Regions from separate parts of the Homo sapiens genome. Here region 1 is linked to region 2. Evidence: promoter capture Hi-C in human tissues and cell types (Jung and others, 2019). All regions are on one chromosome and are shown on one strand. Each heading gives the region's core, a stretch centred on a gene start or on the middle of the fragment in contact. The rest is flanking DNA. Distances are from core to core; before and after follow the strand shown. Region 1 overlaps CD200R1 (CD200 receptor 1). Region 2 holds the start of BTLA (B and T lymphocyte associated).

Region 1 (3,264 bases), core at 674-3,173, 470 kb after region 2:
AAAGAAATTACTGAACACCTTAAAACTACATAAACACATACTGGTTGGAAAAATATTTCTTCCAAATCACTGAATTTTCTCAAATAATATCCTTTGAACACATTCAGGTTTCCCCTATGTTGGTAGAAAAAAAAAAACTTTATTAGATGCTTACTTCCCCTTCTAGCTAGGATCCCTTCTCCTTTCTTTGCTGCCTAACTTCTTGAATGAGTGGTCTGTGCCCACAGCCTCAATTTCCTTCCCACTCACTCCCTCCTCAATACCAGCAATCTCGCTGCTCCCACGTCTATCTACTCAAACTGCAATTTTCAAGGTCACCAGCCCTTTTATAGTCAAGCTTTTGGCCTCTTTTCAGTGCTGGTGTTCCTAAGTTGTTGATGGATTTTAACACAATTAACCACTTTCTTCTCCTTCTAAAACCCCTTTCCTAGCCTTCCCACTACACCCATGCATTCCCTTCTCTGTCTCTTTCCCTATCTTCACTGCCTCCTCTCATATATTTTCTACAAGCTATCTTTCTCCTTGGGCATCGTAATGTCAGTATTCACCAAAGTCTCAGCTGCTTTTTCTCTTTACACTTTCTCTCCTCTTGCTCCTTAACCCCTTGAACTTCAACTAGATCTCTATACAGGTGATTTCCTCTTGTTTTCACCACTCCAGTCATAGTTTAGCTCCCTCTGTCCTTCATTAAGCCTGTTTGACCTGCCTGGAATGTTTATCCCTCAACTCTTCTTACCTCGCTGTTTCTGTTCATCTTCATCTTAAACATCACTTCCTTGGAGGAGCCTAACTTGATCCTCAAACCAGATTAGACTCACCAGTTACACATTTCTATGTCACCCTATATTTATCCTTATGCACTTGCGCATTGTTTAATTATTTGCAGTAATTGATTTAATATCTATCTTTCCCACCAGATTTAAATTCCATGAGAGCAGGACCTATGTCTGTCTTGATCAAATGTCCACAGCATGAAGCACAGTGACTGATACATGACAGACACTCTAAATTACTGGCTGACAGAATAACCCACCCACATTTTTGCTTTGACTTATTTTTCCTAAGCAAGAATCTCAAACATTTAGCTGAAATTTGTCCCCACTTGAATACTTGCTGTCATTTCAAGTGTATCACATCTAAAAGACATAGATTTTTCTCCCACACACTTGCCCCATCCCTTTCCCCTCTAATTTTTGTACTATGAAGGTGTTCAAAACTCAGCTCACACCCCAGAAAGCTGTTTGATATGATTAGCAATCCCACATACACACTTGGGCTTTATTTGCCCCATGTATAAAATGAAAGATTTTTAATTTGAAGGTTCCTAAAGTACTTCCTTTGTGAAGGCTTTATACTTCTTAATAGTGTCATACATCTTCATTTCACAAATGAGGAAATTACTGTCAAAAGAAGTTAAGCAATTTCTAAAGATGAAACAGCTAGTGGTTAGAATTACATAACTGATCTTTAGACCCAACACAGAGTTATATTTGTATTTAGAAATTGGTATCTATTGGTATCTAAATTAGTGTCTAGAAATTTTACTAGAAATTATGGGAAAGAAGAACGAAATTTTACTGAGAAAAGTGAAATGTACCAAAACATTCAATGCATGGGTAACATTTAGAAAGCAAAAAAGCATAATAATATATTCAATCTTAACATCCAAGACAATATAACCACTAAGTCAATATTAGTTGTAAAAATACAATAATATTTTAAAATATGTATATTTGAAGAAAGTTTCACTTCTTTATGGGCCAGTGAGTTTCCACAGGTAAGAACTATAAATTGTGGACAAAATATAAAAACAACTACCTGAGGTTACTGGAAAGTGGAGGAAGCAGAAAAATTCTTGAAGGGTGTCAATGCTTGGAAGAAGGAAATAGGGGATCAGAGTTGTGGGTGTAGGTTCCCATTATTTCCCCATTTTTACCGATGTTAGTCCCAGAGAGGGCTGCAGATGATACCACATTAGGCAGCTACTCTAATGGAAAGCCCACAGTTTTCTGAAGAACCAGCAGGCAGATTTTAGGGCAACTTTACTCTCTGAAAAGTGACAGAGTCAGAGTAAAAGAGTTCCAAATTCTGCATACACTCTACCCATATCTCTGATGACTCTAAACCACACATTGCAGGTCACAGTCAAAGCAGATTAGCTACCAGTAAAAGAACTCAGATTTGAGATGCTGTCCAAGGGGTAGAGTTTGCAGTTTGGGTCCAACCAAGTAAAATATCAACACAGCAATATAACAGAATCTGTGCAACATTCAAAACCCAAATAAAACTATTTAATTTACAAAGAACCAAGAAAATGTGGCCTATGCTTAGGAGAAAATACATTAAGGGAGACTAACAACTTCAAGTTGACCCAGACACTCGCATTCTCAGACAAGAGTCTTACAGCAACATTCAGCTATGCTTAGTGACATAAAGAAATATATACTCACAATGAATGAATAAAAACACAGAAAAATCTCAGCAGAGAAAAAAAACTTTTAACAAATAAATGGAAATCTTAAAATTGAAAAATACAATATCTAAAATAATATATTAACTAGGGCTTTACAGAAGAATGAAGAGGAGAAAGGAAATTGTAATTGTCAGTGAACTTGAATATATAGCAATAGAAATTATTCAATCAAAAGAACAGAGAGACAAGATATTGGGGAAAATATGTATAAAAAGGGAACTAAGAACTAAGAGAACTCCTCACTAGCAGACCTACACTACTAGAAACAATAACAGAAATTATTCAGGATGAAAGAAAATAATACCAGGTAGAAACTTGGAAATTCAAGAAGGAATTAAGAGTATTAGAAATGACAACTAGAGTGGACATAGTATGTGCCACCAACAGTTGCCTCTGACTTTTTGTTCCTGCCACTAGGATCACTGTCAACAGACAGTCTTCAGTTTTCAGCCTCTCCAGGGATGACTTCAGTTACTTAGACCAAAGTCAGACCCTTTCCAGGGGAGCCCATATCCAACGACTGATTTAGATGGAGTTATAAAGGAACAGCCATTTTTATTCAATGCAGGGCCTCTCTAAGGCCAATCTAGCTCCTGAGCTCCCTGTGGGGTCAGTGAGGGTGTCAGTTGGTTGAGATTGCAGGTAGACTTCTCCCTCTGCTCACAAGCATACTGTACACAAAACTCTATCTCAGAGTCTAACTTCCAAGAGAACCTGCAACAGCAACAATAACTCAAAGTAACAGACATTTTTGAAGAAAATTATTTCTTCAAAAGTGGAAAAACTGGCCA
Region 2 (3,067 bases), core at 494-2,993:
TGTGGCATCCTGGCATCATAGAGACATATTCCAAACTACACAGTTTAAAATTATAGATAGACTTTCCATAGAACCTCAGTGGCCAGATTTTCTAATTTAAAATTGCAGTAGCCAAACTGATAAATGTGTGCTTGTAGGGAATAATAAGACAGAATATTTAAAACCTGAAAAATCACTGGGCATGGTGGCTCATACCTGTAATCCTAGCACTTTGGGAGGCTGAGGCAGGTGGATCACTTGAGGTCAGGAGCTCCAGACCAGCCTGCCCAACATGCATTGCATCCATAGCTTGGCTGACTTTCTTAAAAAACAGGTTGATGGCAAGAAAAGAGAACTGAGTAGATGTTATAAATAGTTAAGTACAAATCTATCACTACTTCTTGCGAAAATGCTCAGGCTGCCACACTGATGATGAATAGATAGCTCGTTCTTCCCAAACTGAGTGCAGTAGAGTGTTGCAGTGCTCAGTTGGGTAGGACAGATGTTGGATAATTGGGGTTATCCAACATCTCTACTAAAAATACAAAAATTAGCTGTGCGTGGTGGAAGGTGCCTGTAATCCCAGCTACTAGGGACGCTGAGGCAGGAGAATAAATTGAACCCGGGAGGAAGAAGAATCGATTGAACCCGGGAGGCAGAGGATGCAGTGAGGCGGGATCACGCCATTGCACTCCAGCCTGGGTGACGAGAGCAAAACTCTTGTCTCAAAAAAATAAAAAAATAAAACCTGAAAAATCAGAAGCTTCTGATGAGCCACTCATAGGCTTTTCCTCTTGATAATATGTGGGTTCCTATGCAATATAAGGTAGGAAGCGACTTTACAATAAAAAAGAAATTGCCTTTTTTTTTTTTTTTTTTTTTTTGCCTGTATAAAGTCTTTGCAGGGGTGGCTAAATATCATCTTTGCAGAATCCAACTTATTTTCTGTGTTCAATTGACAACCAAGTAGGAACCATTCCCTTTCAACAAAATAGAAGCAATGACGAAAAGTTCTGCTCCTATATTTTGTAGCATTTTCTCAATCGGTATTCTCAAGGCATACATCCCAATGAAGCAAGTATAGAGATTTTATTTAGAGGTAATATTATTTGAGGGTAACCATGGAGATATGTATAATTCCGATTATCCAACAACTGTCCTACCCAACTGAGCACTGCAGCACTCTACTGCACTCAGTTTGGAAAGAACGAGCTATCTATTCATTATCAGTATGGCAGCCAGAGCATTTTTGCAAGAAGTAGTGATAGATTTGTACTTAACTATTTATAACATCTACTCAGTTCTCTTTTCCTACCATCAACATGTTTTTAAGAAAGTCAGCCAAGCTATTGATGCGATGCCTATGATTAGGCAGGTGAATACTATGTTCTAATTTGGTTTATGCTCTACGATGTCTTCGGTAAGCAAATGTAACAGCTTGGTTTCATCTACGATTACCCACTTCGTATAAACGTTACACCGTACTAAGTTCAGCAAGGGAGAATGTTGCCTCCAAGACCCCCTGAGAAATAAAACCAGAAATAACCTAAGCAGGTGCCTTACCATGGATGTTCCAGATGTCCAGATATGGGATTAAGAAGAAGACCCAAAATAATTTCCCAGTTCCAAGCATGGCAGGCAATGTCTTCATTTCCTGCACATATCAGTGATGGAAAAACTGCTCAAGTAGAAGGCTTTGCTTCGTCTTCTGAGTGCTGCAGAGTTGGGTCAGTTTACCTACCCCAGTGGCATCTGTGAAATAACTAAAAAAAAAAAAAAAAGAAGAGAGAGGTGGTAAGAGAGGAGAGTAGGAAGAGCCTGGATGATTTTGTGAAAAAAAGTGAACAGAAAGACGATGTGGTACTCTGTTCTGTGGTTTTTGCTTCTTGTCAGGTTGGCTGTTCACTTTCAAACACTGTGATCTGCAAAGCAGCTCAGTCCTTAACTTCTCCTTCCGCTCTACCACGTTTTTGCCCCAGGTTGAGGTTTTTCCTGCACTCAATGTTCAGTGAAATGAGCAATTAAACTTTAAAGAAATCTGTATTGTTGCAGTCTTTAAGTTGAGATTTTAATCAAATTAAGGTCAGGAAATTTATGGTAAAACTATCAATGGTAAGTATACATTTTCCCCTTTGTGATAGCTTGTGATTATGAAACTTCTTTTATGTAAAAGATTTTAGGTTTCTTTTTTTTCCTGTACATGTCACGGTAAGATGAGGATGCTTATTGTCATTAAACCAGTGAAGATTTATCTCAGGTTATGGAGAAAATGAGTGACAGGAAGCACTTCCTCAACAGAAGAAGGAAGAGCAGCCGTCTTTAATCTGTGGATACATATCAATGGAACAAGATCATCATTAATATTGGCTACATGTTCTCTCTAGATAATAAAGTTCTAATCTAAAGGAGATCTTGAATATCAATTAAAGGAAATTTCCATTTTAAACATTCTTCATGCAGTTGTTGTCTCGATGAAGTAGAATAGAAACAGTAAAGGAAGAAATGGAAAAGTTCAAGATCAGATAGCACAGGCCACCATAGGACTGTTTTCTCCACATCCACTTGTAATAATTAGCTTAGCTTATAGTCATAGGAGCTAATCAAATTCATCTGCCATTTGAGACTCCAAATGAGAGATCTAGATTTGTGGCATTAGTGATCATTGACAGAAGTCGATTATATAAGTTTTTTCCTCAGAGACTGATGATTTTATTCCAAGGCCAAACTTCAATAGTTTTAAGTTCAAGGAAAGTTTTAAGAGCAAGGAAAGTGTATAGATTGCTGGACATTTTGACCTGACATGGGAAACTGATGGGCAATACTTAATTCAGAGCTCCCAGTTGAGTTGCCAAGGGTAAATTAAAATTAAAAAACAGTTATCATGTATTTATTGAGTCAAATAGACAATGTGCTATGGTTGGAGATGAATGATGAATGAGTTGCTATTGCTGATTTTAAAGAACTCGTTCAATCAGTATTACGACTTCCTCACATCCACCTTTAGTGTTGGTCTTATAATATAGTATAATACAGAGAGGGTACACATAGCCTTTTAGAATTTCTGTTACTAATCAAATAAACATCCTGG

What was found. Contacts are between HindIII fragments. The study calls those that stand out against the background at their distance.
Region 1: a contact is called between a fragment that was not itself captured here and the fragment with the promoter of BTLA in region 2, in 1 of the 25 tissues and cell types used here (dorsolateral prefrontal cortex).

The regions. Positions count from the first base shown.
Region 1 is chr3:112,966,631-112,969,894 of GRCh38, forward strand. All of the region lies in intron 1 of CD200R1 (CD200 receptor 1), which reads right to left. Among named protein-coding and RNA genes, the nearest start is that of CD200R1, 6.8 kb to the right of the region's middle. The HindIII fragment of the contact is 4,924 bases long and covers 1-3,264 here.
Region 2 is chr3:112,497,729-112,500,795 of GRCh38, forward strand. BTLA (B and T lymphocyte associated) reads right to left here and starts at 1,744. Exons shown (of 5, transcript NM_181780.4): 1 at 1,543-1,744. The coding sequence starts at 1,630. RefSeq lists enhancers at 208-327, 1,196-1,245, 1,336-1,465. The HindIII fragment of the contact is 5,711 bases long and covers 1-3,067 here.